Linked DNA regions of Homo sapiens: regions 2, 3, 4 and 5 are each linked to region 1. Evidence: promoter capture Hi-C in 16 types of primary human blood cells and fetal thymus (Javierre and others, 2016). All regions are on one chromosome and are shown on one strand. The core of a region is centred on a gene start or on the middle of the fragment in contact, and the rest is flanking DNA. Distances in the headings are between cores, read along the strand shown. Region 1 holds the start of ACAP3 (ArfGAP with coiled-coil, ankyrin repeat and PH domains 3). Region 2 overlaps LOC100288175 (a long non-coding RNA gene). Region 3 overlaps C1orf159 (chromosome 1 open reading frame 159). Region 4 overlaps LOC124903820 (a long non-coding RNA gene). Region 5 overlaps LOC124903820 (a long non-coding RNA gene).

Evidence for each region. The method cuts DNA at HindIII sites, captures the fragments that hold promoters and counts their contacts. A CHiCAGO score of 5 or more calls a contact.
Region 2: a contact is called between a fragment that was not itself captured here and the fragment with the promoter of ACAP3 in region 1, in 7 of 17 cell types (M0 macrophages, naive CD4 T cells, activated CD4 T cells and 4 more). The highest score is 10.2, in M0 macrophages.
Region 3: a fragment that was not itself captured here is called in contact with the fragment with the promoter of ACAP3 in region 1 in 6 of 17 cell types (naive CD4 T cells, naive CD8 T cells, total CD8 T cells and 3 more); the score reaches 9.6 in naive CD4 T cells.
Region 4: a contact is called between a fragment that was not itself captured here and the fragment with the promoter of ACAP3 in region 1, in 10 of 17 cell types (naive CD4 T cells, total CD4 T cells, total CD8 T cells and 7 more). The highest score is 9.3, in naive CD4 T cells.
Region 5: a fragment that was not itself captured here is called in contact with the fragment with the promoter of ACAP3 in region 1 in 11 of 17 cell types (naive CD4 T cells, activated CD4 T cells, total CD4 T cells and 8 more); the score reaches 16.4 in naive CD4 T cells.

What each region holds. Positions count from the first base shown.
Region 1 is chr1:1,306,635-1,309,334 of GRCh38, forward strand. ACAP3 (ArfGAP with coiled-coil, ankyrin repeat and PH domains 3) reads right to left here and starts at 1,296. Exons shown (of 24, transcript NM_030649.3): 1 at 1,135-1,296. The coding sequence starts at 1,181. It overlaps PUSL1 (pseudouridine synthase like 1), which reads left to right and starts at 1,963. Exons shown (of 8, transcript NM_153339.3): 1 at 1,963-2,086; 2 at 2,281-2,338; 3 at 2,452-2,639. The coding sequence starts at 2,010. RefSeq lists silencers at 845-1,064, 1,115-1,284, 1,325-2,004, 2,225-2,294, 2,325-2,464 and 1 more. The HindIII fragment of the contact is 38,674 bases long and covers 1-2,700 here.
Region 2 is chr1:1,066,195-1,068,894 of GRCh38, forward strand. It overlaps LOC100288175 (a long non-coding RNA gene), which reads left to right. Exons shown (of 4, transcript NR_148960.1): 4 at 1-259. It overlaps LOC105378948 (a long non-coding RNA gene), which reads right to left. Exons shown (of 5, transcript NR_168433.1): 1 at 2,367-2,700; 2 at 1,604-1,846; 3 at 552-604; 4 at 272-404. Among named protein-coding and RNA genes, the nearest start is that of RNF223, 6.8 kb to the right of the region's middle. RefSeq lists a silencer at 2,520-2,700. The HindIII fragment of the contact is 4,423 bases long and covers 1-2,700 here.
Region 3 is chr1:1,100,358-1,103,124 of GRCh38, forward strand. All of the region lies in intron 1 of C1orf159 (chromosome 1 open reading frame 159), which reads right to left. Among named protein-coding and RNA genes, the nearest start is that of C1orf159, 14 kb to the right of the region's middle. The HindIII fragment of the contact is 5,940 bases long and covers 1-2,767 here.
Region 4 is chr1:1,150,878-1,153,687 of GRCh38, forward strand. All of the region lies in intron 1 of LOC124903820 (a long non-coding RNA gene), which reads left to right. Among named protein-coding and RNA genes, the nearest start is that of MIR200BHG, 11 kb to the right of the region's middle. The HindIII fragment of the contact is 7,276 bases long and covers 1-2,810 here.
Region 5 is chr1:1,129,889-1,132,710 of GRCh38, forward strand. All of the region lies in intron 1 of LOC124903820 (a long non-coding RNA gene), which reads left to right. Among named protein-coding and RNA genes, the nearest start is that of LINC01342, 5.7 kb to the right of the region's middle. The HindIII fragment of the contact is 4,801 bases long and covers 1-2,822 here.

The DNA.
Region 1 (2,700 bases), core at 46-2,545:
CAGCAGATCCCAAGAGACCCAGCGCGCGCGTGCACACCCACACATACACAATCAAGCACACATGTGCAAACATGTTCATGCACAAACATGCCTGCACACACTGGTACCACACATACATGTGTGTTCAAGGAGACACTGCACAGACACGCATCAACATGTGTACCTAGTGATGGAACACGCGTGTACAAGGTGATGTGTCTATTGCTGACATGGCTAACACAGTACGTGAACCCACACAGACAGGTGGTGTGTGCACACGCTTGCGTGCACTCATCGGCAGGCTACATGCAGAAGCAAGCACAGCCCCGTGGCACAGCTCATCCACACGTCCTGTGCAAGGCCTGGTGTCCGGAGGGAGGCACGCAGAGGGGCAAAGTTCACAAGAGCGCACCCCGCACGAGCTCGTGCAGAGGAGGGGGCCTCACGCAGGTGCGCACTTGGGGATGCAGAGAGGTTTCTTTGCCTCCATTGTCGTTTGCCAAATGTCCACCAAGCAAAGCCGATGCACACTTGTGCACACGTCTGTGAACATGTAGTTCACGCAGGTGTACACGCCTGCACGCCACGAATGATGGAAAACATGCAGACTCGGTGTGCACACAACCCCTACCCCCTACCTGACCTTCCCCGCCGCTCTTCTCGGCCGCCACCCCTCCAAGCCCCTGGGTCATTCAAACCACTTCACGTTTCCAAGCACCCTACCCCAGGCCTTAAACGCGGCTCCAGCTGCCTGTTCCCCACGCGCTGCTCTGGACACAGGATCAAGTCAGAGACCAGGGGCCGACGCCCCCACGGACCCAGACGACCCTGGCCAGAGCTGGACTGCAGGGCCCGGGAGGGGCTCAGCCCAGTGGAGGTGCAGACACAGAGCGGGGGCGGACGGTCCCGAGGTGCCCACGGCTGCCCACGCGCACGCCCTCCACCCGGGGCGGCCGCACAGGGCAGGAGCGTCTTTTGTTCCAACCCCCGGGGCATGGCGGGGCGGGGCCGCCGCTTTGTCCGAGGCCGGTCCTCCAGCCCCTCCCCGGCGGCCGCGGCCCGGCCCGGCGCTGACCTCCCCACCCCGCCGCCGGGCACAAAGGCGACAGCGACGCCCCCGGCCTGCGCCCACCCCGGCGGCCCCGGGCGGCGCACCTGAAGCGCGGGGAGTCCTTGACGCACTCCTCGAACTCCACGGTCATGGCTGCGGCGGCCGCGGCGCTCACTGGCACGAGGACCGCGGCGCCGAGCGGCAGCCGCGCCGGCCCGGACCGCTCGTCCCGCCCGCGCCGCCTCGGCGCCCGCCCGCCCCGGAATGAGGCCGCCGCGCCGCGCCCCGCCCCGCCTGTCACCGCCGGGGAGCGTCGCCAAAGTCAGCCGCCCGCGCGCACCGCCCGCTGTCACTGCCGGGGAGCGTCGCCAAGGTCCGCCGCCCGCGCGCGCCGCCCGCTGTCACCGCCGGGGAGCGTCGCCAAACGCCTCTCGCAGCGTCCAGGGACCACCCCGGTCCGGAAGTGAGGCGGGGCCTGCCACGGCCGTCTCCGGGGACAGTCGGTGGAAATGTGGGGCGCGGGGAGGGCGCGGGGAGGGCGCGGGCCCGCCCGCTCCAACCATCCCGGCCGTTGCGCAACTCAGGGCGTTTGCAAAAACCACGTCTGGGAGGACTTGGCCGCAACGCGGCGAACGGGCGCGCTCGGGGAGTGTGGGCGGCGGCGAATGAATGAGCGAGTGAACGAATGCACGCCCGCGAGAGCGCGGGGTGACCGCGTGGTTGGTGCGCGCCTCCCGGGGCGCCGCGATAGAGGTAGAGCGCCTGCGCTCGGCGGCGGGCCGGCACTTTGCAGCCGCTCCCTAAGCCCGGCCCCGCCTCCGCTCCCCGACTCTGGCCGCCGTGGCGCGGTGCCACCGCGCAGGCGCAAGAGCGGCCGGGGCCGGGGGGGAGGGGGGGGGGGCGTGACCAGGCCGCGTCCGCGCGCGCGCAGGATTCCTGCGCTGGAGGCCGCCTCTGACGCCACCGGCTGGGCTCCGCCATGAGTTCGGCGCCGGCCTCAGGCTCCGTGCGCGCGCGCTATCTTGTGTACTTCCAGTACGTGGGCACCGACTTTAAGTAGGTTTCCCAGGCGCAGCGGCGGGCGCCACGTGGGCCCGGGCGGAGGCGGGAAGGAGGGCGCGGGCGGGCAGGCGGATGTCTCTGGACGCGGGTTCCAAACGTTCGGGGAAGGAAGCGGCCCTGGCCTCAGACGGCGGCGGAGACCCCAGGGCAGGGCGCCCCCGGTAACCTCCGCCCGCTTCTGCCCGCAGCGGGGTCGCGGCCGTCAGGGGCACTCAGCGCGCCGTCGGGGTCCAGAACTACCTGGAGGTGCGCTCAGCCGGTCACGGGACGCCCGGTGAGGGGTAAGGGGGAGGCTCCCGCCCGCGCGTCCCCGGGGTCCGGCCTCGCTCACCCGCCCGCCCCGCGGCTCGGTCCTGCAGGAGGCCGCCGAGCGGCTGAATTCCGTGGAGCCGGTCAGGTTCACCATCTCCAGCCGCACGGACGCCGGGGTCCACGCCCTGAGCAACGCGGCGCACCTGGACGTCCAGCGCCGCTCAGGCCGGCCGCCCTTCCCGCCCGAGGTCCTGGCCGAGGCCCTCAACACACACCTGCGGCACCCGGCCATCAGGTGAGCCCGCGACCTAAGCAGCCCTGGGGCTGTGCCTTCCCGACTCCATCTGTCGCGGGCG
Region 2 (2,700 bases), core at 91-2,590, 240 kb before region 1:
AGCGGCCCTTATGCGGGCATGACAGAAGGCTCCCCTCTTGCCTTCTATTCACTTCTCACAATGTCCCTTCAGCACCTGACCCTATACCTGCCGGTTATTCCTAGGTTATATTATTAATGCAACAGAGTAATATTAAAAGCTAATGATTAATAATGTTTATAATAATGATGGATAATTGTTCATGATCATCGCTGTATCTAATTTGTATTATGACTATTCTTATTCTATTTTCTTTATTATACTGAAACAGTTTGTGCCTTCAGTCTCTTGCCTCGGCACCTAGGTACTCTTCCGCCCACACGGGACGGGCTGGGGGTGGCCATCTCGGGCTCTGGGAAGGGGCCGGGGCTGTGAGCTGAAGGCTCCATCACCTCCAGATGCTGCAGCAGCAGGAATGCCGGTTCCTGTACCCTCGGAAGGAGGGGCAGAGTGTGGAGAACAAGCCCAAGAATCACTACAAGAACATCCTTCCCTGTGAGGGCGGAGGCCAGGGCGTCACCCGTCGGGCCTGGGGGAGGTGGGGGGCAGGCCGAGCATCTGCCACCGCTGACCTGAGGCTCCCCCTTGCATACCCTGGACCCTCCATCTCTGCTCACCACAGGGTCTGCGGGCAAAGAGGCAGGGTGAGGCCCACGAGCTGTGCCCTGGAGAACTGAGCGGCACCTCCCTTCCCAGTTGATGCTACCCTTGAGTCATCCTGCTCAACGAGGATGACAGCGGGCCCGGAGCCGACTACATCAGGGTGGGTGTGTGCGGGAGGCGGGGCCTGGGCCCATTGCTCCTGGGGGGCTCAGGAAGAACCAGGGTCCCCAAGGGAGGGGTGGGCGGCAGTCTCCAAGGGGTCCTCAGAGAGGCTGGACGGGCATTGGTCCTCAGCCCCTTGCTGGCCTGGAGTGAGGAGTGTGTTTAAGCCACCAGGGCTCTTTGCATAATATTTGTGTGTCGTTTGCATATCATTTGCATAGCATTTGCATGGACTTGTTTGTCCTCTGTTAACAGCAGCAGTTGGCCTCATTCCCTTTCAGACTGACCCTGAGGAGGAGCCGGGCCATGGCAGGGGCAGGGTGGACATCCCTTGTGGCCCTGCCCCGCCGCACCTGCACCTGCACAGCCCGCGTGGGCCCGCCCCGCCGCAGCTGAAGTGCACCACCATGGGCCCGGCCCGCGGCTCGCGGCTCGCGGCTCTGGGCCCGGTTCACCTCGTCCCGGAAGCCGAGGACGCCGGCGGGATCGGTCCGGACGCCGTAGTCCGGCCAGCCGAAGTACTGGAAGTGCTGCACCGTACGCTGTGGCTCCTCCCCGCGGGGCAGGGCCTCGCGGGCGCAGGGTGTACATCGCCTGCAGGGCTGTCTGCAGGCCTGTCTGCAGGCCACGGTGGCTGCTTTCTGGGCCACGGTGCACCAGGAGAACACGCGTGTCATCGTCATGACCACCAGGGAGATGGAGCGGGGCCGGGTAGGGGTGCGGTGCCAGTGCTCCCAGTGCCCATCCCACCCCGTGCATCTTCGGCTGCCCAAGGCCCTTCCCGACCAGGCCAAGGAGGCTGTGGGACGCCGTGGGAGTGGGGAGGCTCCCACAGAGCCCCGTGGCTGCACGTACACACCTGCGTCTCTGCAGGTCGCAGGGGCGGGGTGCCGAGGTGCTGCCAGCAAGGCTGATGCAAAGCGCTCCCCTCGGAACAAGTGTTTCCGGGACTGGCCAGAGCTGCCCGGCAGCCAAGAGTTCGGCCGTGTGCACATGCGCGTCCTCGGCAAGGGCCAGGCCCAGGGCTACTGCGTGCGGGAGCTGCAGGTGTGGCGGCCGGGCCAGGTGAGCCTGGCGGCTGTGGAGCGTGCCTGCTGTCGGCCTGCACTGGGAGACCCCACACCTGCCTGCATCCAACCCCACTGCCTTTGGGGGCTTCCACACCCCTCAACCCAGGAGGTGCATTCCAAGCCTGGACAGGGGTCACTGACGTGGCCACATTCTCAGCCCTGGGCTGGCGGCCGCTCCTCCCACACACCTCTCCAACTGCAGCTTTGGTCTCCGTTGTATACCAGAGACGCCCATTTCTGCTCCGGGCAGATTACCTCGTGTTCCCTCCAGCCCCCGCCCAGTGTGTGTGGGGGGGTCCTCCAGGACCCCATGGACCCCTCACATTTGGTTTTTCCTTATAAAATAACTGTCCTCACAGCCTGCTTCGCCCGCCCCCAGCTCCCTCTTCCCTTCCCCAGGCACCTGAGCCACCTGGGGCCATCTCGGCGCCCCCTCCCCATTTCCTTCCTCCTCCTCCTGCTCGCCTTGGCTCCCGCAGCCCCTCCGCTTGGGCACTCCCGGAAACCCAGCTGTGCCTCAGCCTCCTCCTCCCACCCTGGGGTCACACTCACCGCTTGCCCCGCTCAGGAGGAGCCACAGCGTACGGTGCAGCACTTCCAGTACTTCGGCTGGCCGGACTACGGCGTCCGGGCCGATCCCGCCGGCGTCCTCGGCTTCCGGGACGAGGTGAACCGGGCCCAGAGCAGCAAGCCGCGGGCCGGGCCCATGGTGGTGCACTTCAGCTGCGGCGGGGCGGGCCCACGCGGGCTGTGCAGATGCAGGTGCGGCGGGGCGGGGCCACGCGGGCTGTGCAGGTGCAGGTGCGGCGGGGCGGGGCCACGCGGGACGACGAGGGCGGAGCCATCGGGTGGGCGGGGGCGCCCCCGCCCCCGCCCCCCACTCTCG
Region 3 (2,767 bases), core at 252-2,751, 210 kb before region 1:
TTATTTTTCAGTGATTTTAGGTTCATAGCAAAATTGAGCAGTTAAGTACAAGGAGTTGTGCCTCCCCGCTGTGCCCACCCAGGCACAGCCTTACCCTCAGCATCCCACTTGTTGCAGCTGACACACCGACAGTGACACATCACCACCACTCAAAGTCCATGGTTGACACGAGGGCGCACTCTTGGTGCTGCACGTTCTTGGTGCTGAGCTTTGGCAAGTGTATAATGACACTATCGTTGGATTTCAGGTCTACCGTTTTTACCGTTTATTATTTGTTTTCTGATTGTCCCTGTGTTTTTTGTTCCTCTATTCTCTTTCTGGCCCTCTTTTGCGTGATTTGAAGTTTTAAAAATTCCTTTCCAAGTTATCTTTTGGCCCTTTAGTTGTGCTTCTTTCCATTATTCTCATAGTTGTTGCTCTAGGAATTGCAATTTCAACCTTGCTTTTTCTAGTCTACTTAGAACTAGCATTATACCACTTTATGCAAAATGTAGACATGTAGACACCTTGCAACTGTACAGTCCACGGATCCCCTCTACTACTCTTCACGTTGTGGCTGTCATATCTGCATACATTATAAACCCAAGAGATGTTTTAATTTTTCCCCAGATATTTACTAATTTTGATGTTCATCATTCATTCTTAAAGATCTGAGTTTCACTGTAGTATATACTATCTTCAGCATTTCCGGTAGCACAATTTGATGGTGACAAATTTTATCAGTTTTCCTTTTTCTGAAAATATTTTCATGTAATGTTTATTCTTAGAGAATACAGAATTCTATGCTTTTTTTTTCTTTCAGCAGTTCCACTTTCTTCTGGTCTCCATAATTACTCACAAACTTGGTCGGGCGTGGCAGCTCACGCCTGTAATCCCAGCACTTTGGGAGGCCAAGTGGGTGGGTCACTTGAGGCCAGGAGTTTGATGCCACCCTGGCCAACATAGCAAAACCCCATCTCTACTAAAAATACAAAAATTAGCTCAGCATGGTAGCACACGCTTGTAGTCCCAGCTACTTGGGAGGCTGAGACACAAGAATCGCTTGAACCCAGGAGGCAGAGGTTGCAGTAAGCTGAGACTGTACCACTGCACTCCAGCCTTGGTAACAGAGCAAGACTGTATAAAAAAAAATTTTTTTTTAAATCTCACAGACTCAGTCTATCAGCTCATGGTCTATCAGCTCAGGGTCTGTCAGCTCATGGTCTATCGGCTCAGGGTCCATTGGCTCACATCTATCAATCAGCTCAGTCTATTGGCTCAGGGTCCGTCGGCTCATGGTCTATCAATCAGCTCACAGTCTGTCGGCTCACGGTCTATTGGCTCATGGTTTATCAGCTCAGTCTTCACAGTGCTGTGCTGTGTGTGATCTGTTGTTTTTCTCTGGCTGCTTTCAAGATTTTTAAAGTTAATCTTTAGTTTTTAATAGTTTTAGGGCTGGGTGTGGTGGCTTACACCTGTAATCCCAGCACTTTAGGAAGCTGAGGCAGGCAGATCCCCTGAGGTCAGGAGTTCGAGACTAGCCTGGCCAACATGGAGAAACCCCGTATCTACTAAAAATACAAAAATTAATCGGGCATGGTGGCACGGGCATATAGTCCCAGCTACATGGGAGGCTGAGGCAGGAGAATCGCTTGAACTGGGAGGTAGAGGTTGCAGTGAGCCGAGATCGCACCACTGCACTCCAGCCTGGGCGACAACAGCAAAACTCTGTCTCAAAAAAAAAAAAAAAAAAAAAAAAACAAACTTTTGAAGTGATGGGTCCAGGTGTGGTTTTATTCTCATTTATCCTGTTTGGGATTCTTAAAACTAAACATTTATGTCTTTCACCAAATTTGAAAGTTTCTGGTTACTGTTTCTTCAAGTACTTCTGTCCACTGTGCCTCTCCTCTCCTGGACCTCTGTAATTACCCATGTGTTAGACATGTTGATATCACCTAAGGTCCCTGAGGCTTAGATATCACCTACAGGTCCCAGAGGCTCTGTTCATGGTTTTGTTTTATTTTCCTCCAATCACTTCCACCCTTTTTTTTTTTTCCAGCTTGGATGATTTCTATTCCTCTGTCTTTGAGGACTCTGCCTATTTTCTCTGTTATTTCCCTTCTGTTATGTTCATTCAGTGAATTTTAAAATTTCAGATCTTGGCCAAGCACAGTGGCTCACGCCTGTAATCCCAGCACCTTGAGAGGCTGAGGTAGGTGGATCACCTGAGGTCAGTTCAAGACAAGCCTGGCCAACATAGCGAAACCCTGTCTCTACTAAAAAAAAAAAAAAAAAAAAAAAAAAAAAAAAAAATTGCCAGGCGTAGTGGTGGGCACCTGTAGTCCCAGCTACTCAGGAGGCTGAGGCAGGAGAATCACTTGAACCTGGGAGGCAGAAGTTGCAGTGAGACGAGATCGTGCCACTGAACTCCAGCCTGGGTGACAGAGTAGAACTGTCTCAAAAATAAATAAATAAAATAAAATTTCAGATCTTGTTTTTTTTTGAGACAAGAGTTTCACTCTTGTCCCCCAGCCCCAGGCTGGAGTGCAGTGGCATGATCTGGGCTCACTGCAGCCTCTGCCTCCTGGGCTCAAGTGATTCTTTGCCTCAGCCTCCCGAGTAGCTGGGATTACAGGCGACCACCACCAAGCCCTGCTAAATTTTTGTTGTTGCTGTTTGTATTTTTAGTAGAGACGGGGTTTCACCATGTTGGTCAGGCTTGTCTTGAACTCCTGACCGCAGGTGATCCACCTACCTCAGCCTCCCAAAGTGCTGGGATTACAGGCGT
Region 4 (2,810 bases), core at 90-2,589, 160 kb before region 1:
GCCGGGGAGCAGAGGTGAGGGGCCGGGAGGGGTCCTGGCGAGCAGCAGGGCTGCGTCTAGGGCCTGCGTGCCCGGTGGGGCTGCTGCCGGGTGATTTGCCTGAGACATTTCCATGGCTGCTTTGGTTCTGCGGGCTGGGATTTCCATGCCTGCTCCCTCCCAGGCGTCGTGAAGCCTGCAGCCCTAGGTTCTGTTTCCGCCAGGTGCCCTCACCTTCTGGGACCCGGCCGAGCCCTGGGAACACTGGCTGGGGAGCAGTTACCCAGGGCCCATGGTGCTGAGGGTCACCGACCGTCCCTTGAGGCTCCCCGAGTTTGGTCCTAAGGGCTTGGTCTGGAGGCATCTCTGGTCCAGAACCTCAGGACTCACGGTGTGTTTAAGAACCAGGTCAGCAGCCCCTGGGGTGGGCCCTGCCCGTCTGTTCCGAGGAGCCACCTGGGGGCCCTTCCTGCGCAGCTCAGGATGTCTGAGAAGCCCGGGGTCCTCACCGCTCAACGGCCTTCTCCGGCACCCAGATCTCGGGCTCCAGGCCCCTTCCGCAGTTCACCTGTCCCGGGCCCCCCACCCAGCAGGAGTGCCGCCTGCCTCCCGCACGGCCGGCCTCCGTGTCCCAGACAGGGTTTGCCTCCAGGGTCCCCTCCCCACAGTCTCTTGGGGCAGGACCCCTGGCGAGTTCCCCGGAGTCGAGGCGGCAACCCCAGCAGACAACACGTGGAGGTGACGGTGGCACTGCCAAGCCCAGGCCAGGCTCTCAAGAATGCTCGGGCCCAGCCAGAGCCTCAGGGTGAGCTCAAGGCACCAAACCCAGAACGGCCCCACCCAGGGGGAGCGTGGAGTGCGAGGAGGGGCAGCCACGGTCCGTTCTGTGGCCTCGGCTCTCCAGGACTCGGAGGCTCCACGCCCCTTCCTGCTCTGCCCAGCCTGGGGCTGCCCCGCTCCCCTCTGCCTCTGTCTCCTGCTGCCCCTGGGGCCTCCGTCTCTGTCTCCTGCTACCCCCGGGGCCTCCGCTCACAGCAGCCACTTCTGCCACCAGCAAGACATCAACAAAGGTCACTGGTGGGACTTTAAATACACATTTAAATAGACTTTTTATTTCTAATAATTTCTGATCAACAGAAAAGTTGCACAGGGGTTTCAAAGATCACAGAGACCTGGCGTCACTGTGAGACCCGCACGTCAGCTGGTCCGTCTGTCGCAGCAGCCAGTGATGACCAGCAGCTAAACCCCACACGCTGGCCAGCCTTTTTCCCTCCTGTCCTTTCCGTCCCAGAACCCCATCCAGGCCCCGTGGCCTCGTCACCTCTCCTTGGTCTGTGACAGCTTCTCAGACTTTCCTTGGTTTAGCAACCTTGACAGTTTTGAGGAGTGCTGCTCAGGTGTTTTGTAGAGAGTCCCTCAGTTTGGGTTTGTCTGATGTTTTTCTCATGATTATACTCTGGGGTTATGGGTTTTGCGAAGAGGAGGATGGAGTCCTAAGTTCCAGAGCCCAGTGTCCCATCACCCCATTGAGTCCGGGTTCCAGGCTCTCCACACAACCCAGCTCTATCATCCCATCGGGGATCCACGCTCTCCACACGACCCAGCTCTATCATCCCATCGGGGATCCAGGCTCTCCACACAACCCAGCTCTATCATCCCATCAGGGATCCACGCTCTCCACACGACCCAGCTCTATCATCCTCTCAGGGACCCAGGCTCTCCACATGACCCAGCTCTATCATCCCATCAGGGATCCAGACTCTCCACATGACCCAGCTCTATCATCCCATCGGGGATCCAGGCTTTCCACACGACCCAGCTCTATCATCCTCTCAGGGACCCAGGCTCTCCATACGACCCAGCTCTATCATCCCATTGGGGATCCATGCTCTCCACATGACCCGGCTCTATCATCCCATCGGGGACCCAGGCTCTCCACACGACCCAGTTCTATCATCCCGTCAGGGATCCAGGCTCTCCACACGACCCAGTTCTATCATCCTCTCAGGGACCCAGGCTCTCCACATGACCCAGCTCTATCATCCCATCGGGGATCCAGGCTCTCCATACGACCCAGCTCTATCATCCTCTCAGGGACCCAGGCTCTCCACATGACCCAGCTCTATCATCCTCTCAGGGACTCAGGCTCTCCACATGACCCAGCTCTATCATCCCATTGGGGATCCAGGCTCTCCACACGACCCAGCTCTATCATCCCATTGGGGATCCACGCTCTCCACATGACCTGGCTCTATTATCCTCTCAGGGACCCAGGCTCTCCACACGACCCAGTTCTATCATCCCATCAGGGATCCACGCTCTCCACACGACCCAGCTCTATCATCCTCTCAGGGACCCAGGCTCTCCACACGACCCAGCTCTATCATCCCATCGGGGATCCAGGCTCTCCACACGACCCAGCTCTATCATCCCACCGGGGACCCAGGCTCTCCATACGACCCAGTTCTATCATCCCGTCAGGGATCCAGGCTCTCCACACGACCCAGCTCTATCATCCCATCGGGGACCCAGGCTCTCCATATGACCCAGCTCTATCATCCCATCAGGGTTCCGCGTTCTCCACACGACCCAGCTCTATCATCCCATTGGGGATCCAGGCTCTCCACATGACCCAGCTCTATCATCCCATCAGGGATCCACGCTCTCCACATGACCCGGCTCTATCATCCTCTCAGGGACCCAGGCTCTCCACACGACCCAGCTCTGTCAACACTCCCCTCCATCACCCAGCTGAGGCTGTGCCCATCAGGTTTCTCCACTAGTGGGACTGTAAACAATTGCATTTTATTTTTTTATTTTTGAGACAGGGT
Region 5 (2,822 bases), core at 127-2,626, 180 kb before region 1:
TATTGCCTTTTCTATCAAAGTTATGCTTGTGGCCGGACACAGTGGTTCGCATTTGGGAGGTCAAGGCGGGCGGATCACTTGAGGTCAGGAGTTCGAGACAAGCGTGGTCAGCATGATGAAACCCTGTCTCTACTAAAAATACAAAAAAATTAGCTGGATGTGGTGGCGGGCACCTATAATTCCAGCTACTCTGGAGGCTGAGGCAGGACAATCGCTTGCACCTGGAAGGCGGAGGTTGCAGTGAGCTCAGATGGCACCATTGCCCTCCAGCCTGGGCAACAGAGTGAGACTCTGTCTCAAAAAAAAAAAAAAAAAAAAAAAAAAAAAACCAGTTATGCCTGTAGGTTGCTTGAGAGTCAAACACTTCTGCAAGGCTTGGACACATATGATCTTCAGGCCGCGCCGAGGCCACCAGCTCCGTGTGCTGGGAGGCTCCTGTGTTTACTTCCAACGTCACTGGCAAACGGCAGCTTCTCAGCACTCCAGCTTCAGGGTCAGCCCTGAATCTGCCCTGTGGAAGGGGCTGTTTGCCGCCCTCCCACCTCTCGTCCCGCCGTCACGCGCCGCGCCTGGTCTCTGCTGTCACTCTGCTGGGCGCCGGGGACTAGCTTGGTGCCAGGTCCACCGTGGCCGCCTGTTCTCACCCGAACTCTGAGCTGTTTCCCTGAAGTTAATAATCGCCTTTGCTTTTCTTCTTGCTTAGCTTTCTCTGAACTCATTACTAATTCAGCCTCAGACTCTCCCCCATGACTTAAATTCCGGCACGCCAGGTATTTCTGAGGGGCCTCCGGGAGCCTCCTGCCCTGCCCGGGGCTGGTCGGCTCCCTCGGGCCTGGGGCAGGGCTGGCGTCTTGCAGGCTTCGTGGTCCGTGTCACAAAGGTCCCATTGCTTCTCCCCTGGGTGGGATTTTCCCGGGCCCCACACCTCCCCTTTCTTGTCTTCTCAGTGTTTTGGTGGAACAAGCCCCTCGCAGCTCCCCGTGAGGTGCAGGGGGTGGGCCCCCACCACGCCCACAGCTGCAGCTGCCTGTGAAGGGCACAGGGCGGGCCCCCACCAAGGCCTTCGCTTCCCTGCGAGTTGAGAAAACCTCGCCGCAGGGTCCCCGGCTCCCGAGGCTGCTGTGGGTCCGGCAATGGCATCCCAACCCCGGGGCCTTGGTATGGAACCTGTTTCTGCGGGTTTTTTCCTGAAAGTTTTTGGGGCCTTCTTTTTGTCTCCATCTCTGCTGTCCTGTGAAGGTGGATCTTTGTGTGGTTCCGTTTTCATCCCTTTCACGGGGTCCTCAGTGGCTCTTTCTGTCTGGAAATGCCTGAGCTTCGGCTCCAGGAAATGTTCTTGAATTACAATTTTTAAATGATTTTGTTCTTTATCTTTTCTTTTTGTTGTTGCTCTCTCTTTCTCTGGTGAATATTGCTGCAATTTGGAGCAGGTCCTCTAATCACCTTTTCTATCCCATTTTCTTTGCCTTTTCACGTCACGTTCGGGGAACGTCCTGGCTCCGTCCCTTCCAGCGCTTTTCGTTTCTGTCCTCGGAGTCATTCTTTTTAAGACGGAGTCTCGCTCTGTCGCCCAGGCTGGAGTGCAGTGATGTGATCTCGGCTCACTGCAAGCTCCGCCTCCTGGTTCACGCCATTCTCCTGCCTCAGCCTCCCGAGTAGCTGGGACTACAGGTGCCCACCACCATGCCTGGCTAATTTTTTGTATTTTTAGTAGAGACGGGGTTTCACCGTGTCGGCCAGGATGGTCTCGATCTCCTGACCTCATGATCCGCCCGCCTCGGCCTCCCATAGTGCTGGGATGACAGGCGTGAGCCGCCACGCCCGGCCCCTCGGAGTCGTTCTTTCTGTTGCATCCTCATGGTTTTCTGTGGCCACGTGCTTTCGCTCATCTCTTCGAGGACGTTCCTGATAGTTTGTGCCTCTTCTTTTCAAGGCTTCTTCTCCTTGCACAAGACGGTCTGGAGAAAAACCCGCATTTCCTTCCGTCACACTGACCACATTTAACTTAAAATGGGAAGAGAGCAAAACATTCCACAGGCAAAGTCAGGGGACTATTTTAATGACAGAGACACATGGTTGAAATCAATGCTGCACTCTGAGCCCTTAGAAACCGTCGCAAAGGACTCCACGGAAGGGTGGGGGCAGCCCCAGCGAGGTCGTCAGGGAGCAGAGCCCGAGTCATGGGACACAAGGCCGGACCCCTCACCGCCAGGGAAGCGGAGTCACAGGCACGTGGCCCTCTGCGCCCAGGGTCAGGGCACGGGAGGCAGAGCCTGAGACGGGGGTGCCCATGCAGGGTGTGCTGGGGGTGGGGTTGTGGGGCCTCTCAGGGGCAAGGGGCAGGACCGGACAGCAGAGAGATCCCACTCCTGCCTGAGACCCGCCGCCATCGCCGCCGCGAGCCCTGCGTTGGGCATTGGGGCCAGGCACCTGCCAGGAGGGCCTCTTCCGAGGTGGGGTGTCACCTGGGATGTGTCCGCTGGCAAATGGGAGAAACACCAGGGCGGCTGCCGGGGAGGTCGATGTCAGGGAGCCCGTAGCCCTGAGCCCATGTGTGGAGGAAGCCCTTTGTCTGAGGAGCCTGCGGCCGCCTTGGACCCTGGATGCTTGCAGGGAATCTACACAGGGTTGTCAGGTACGACAAGGGTGCCCAGGGCTGAGGAGGGTGCCCATGCGGCCTCCTACAATGCGTATGGGAAGCCGGTGAACGCCCTCCCTCAGGGCTGGCCGGGTGCGTCTGGGGTTGTCCTAGCTCCAGCTGCTGGAACAAAATACCGAGCCTGGGGACTTAAGCAACAGAAATGTATTTTCTCACAGCCTCG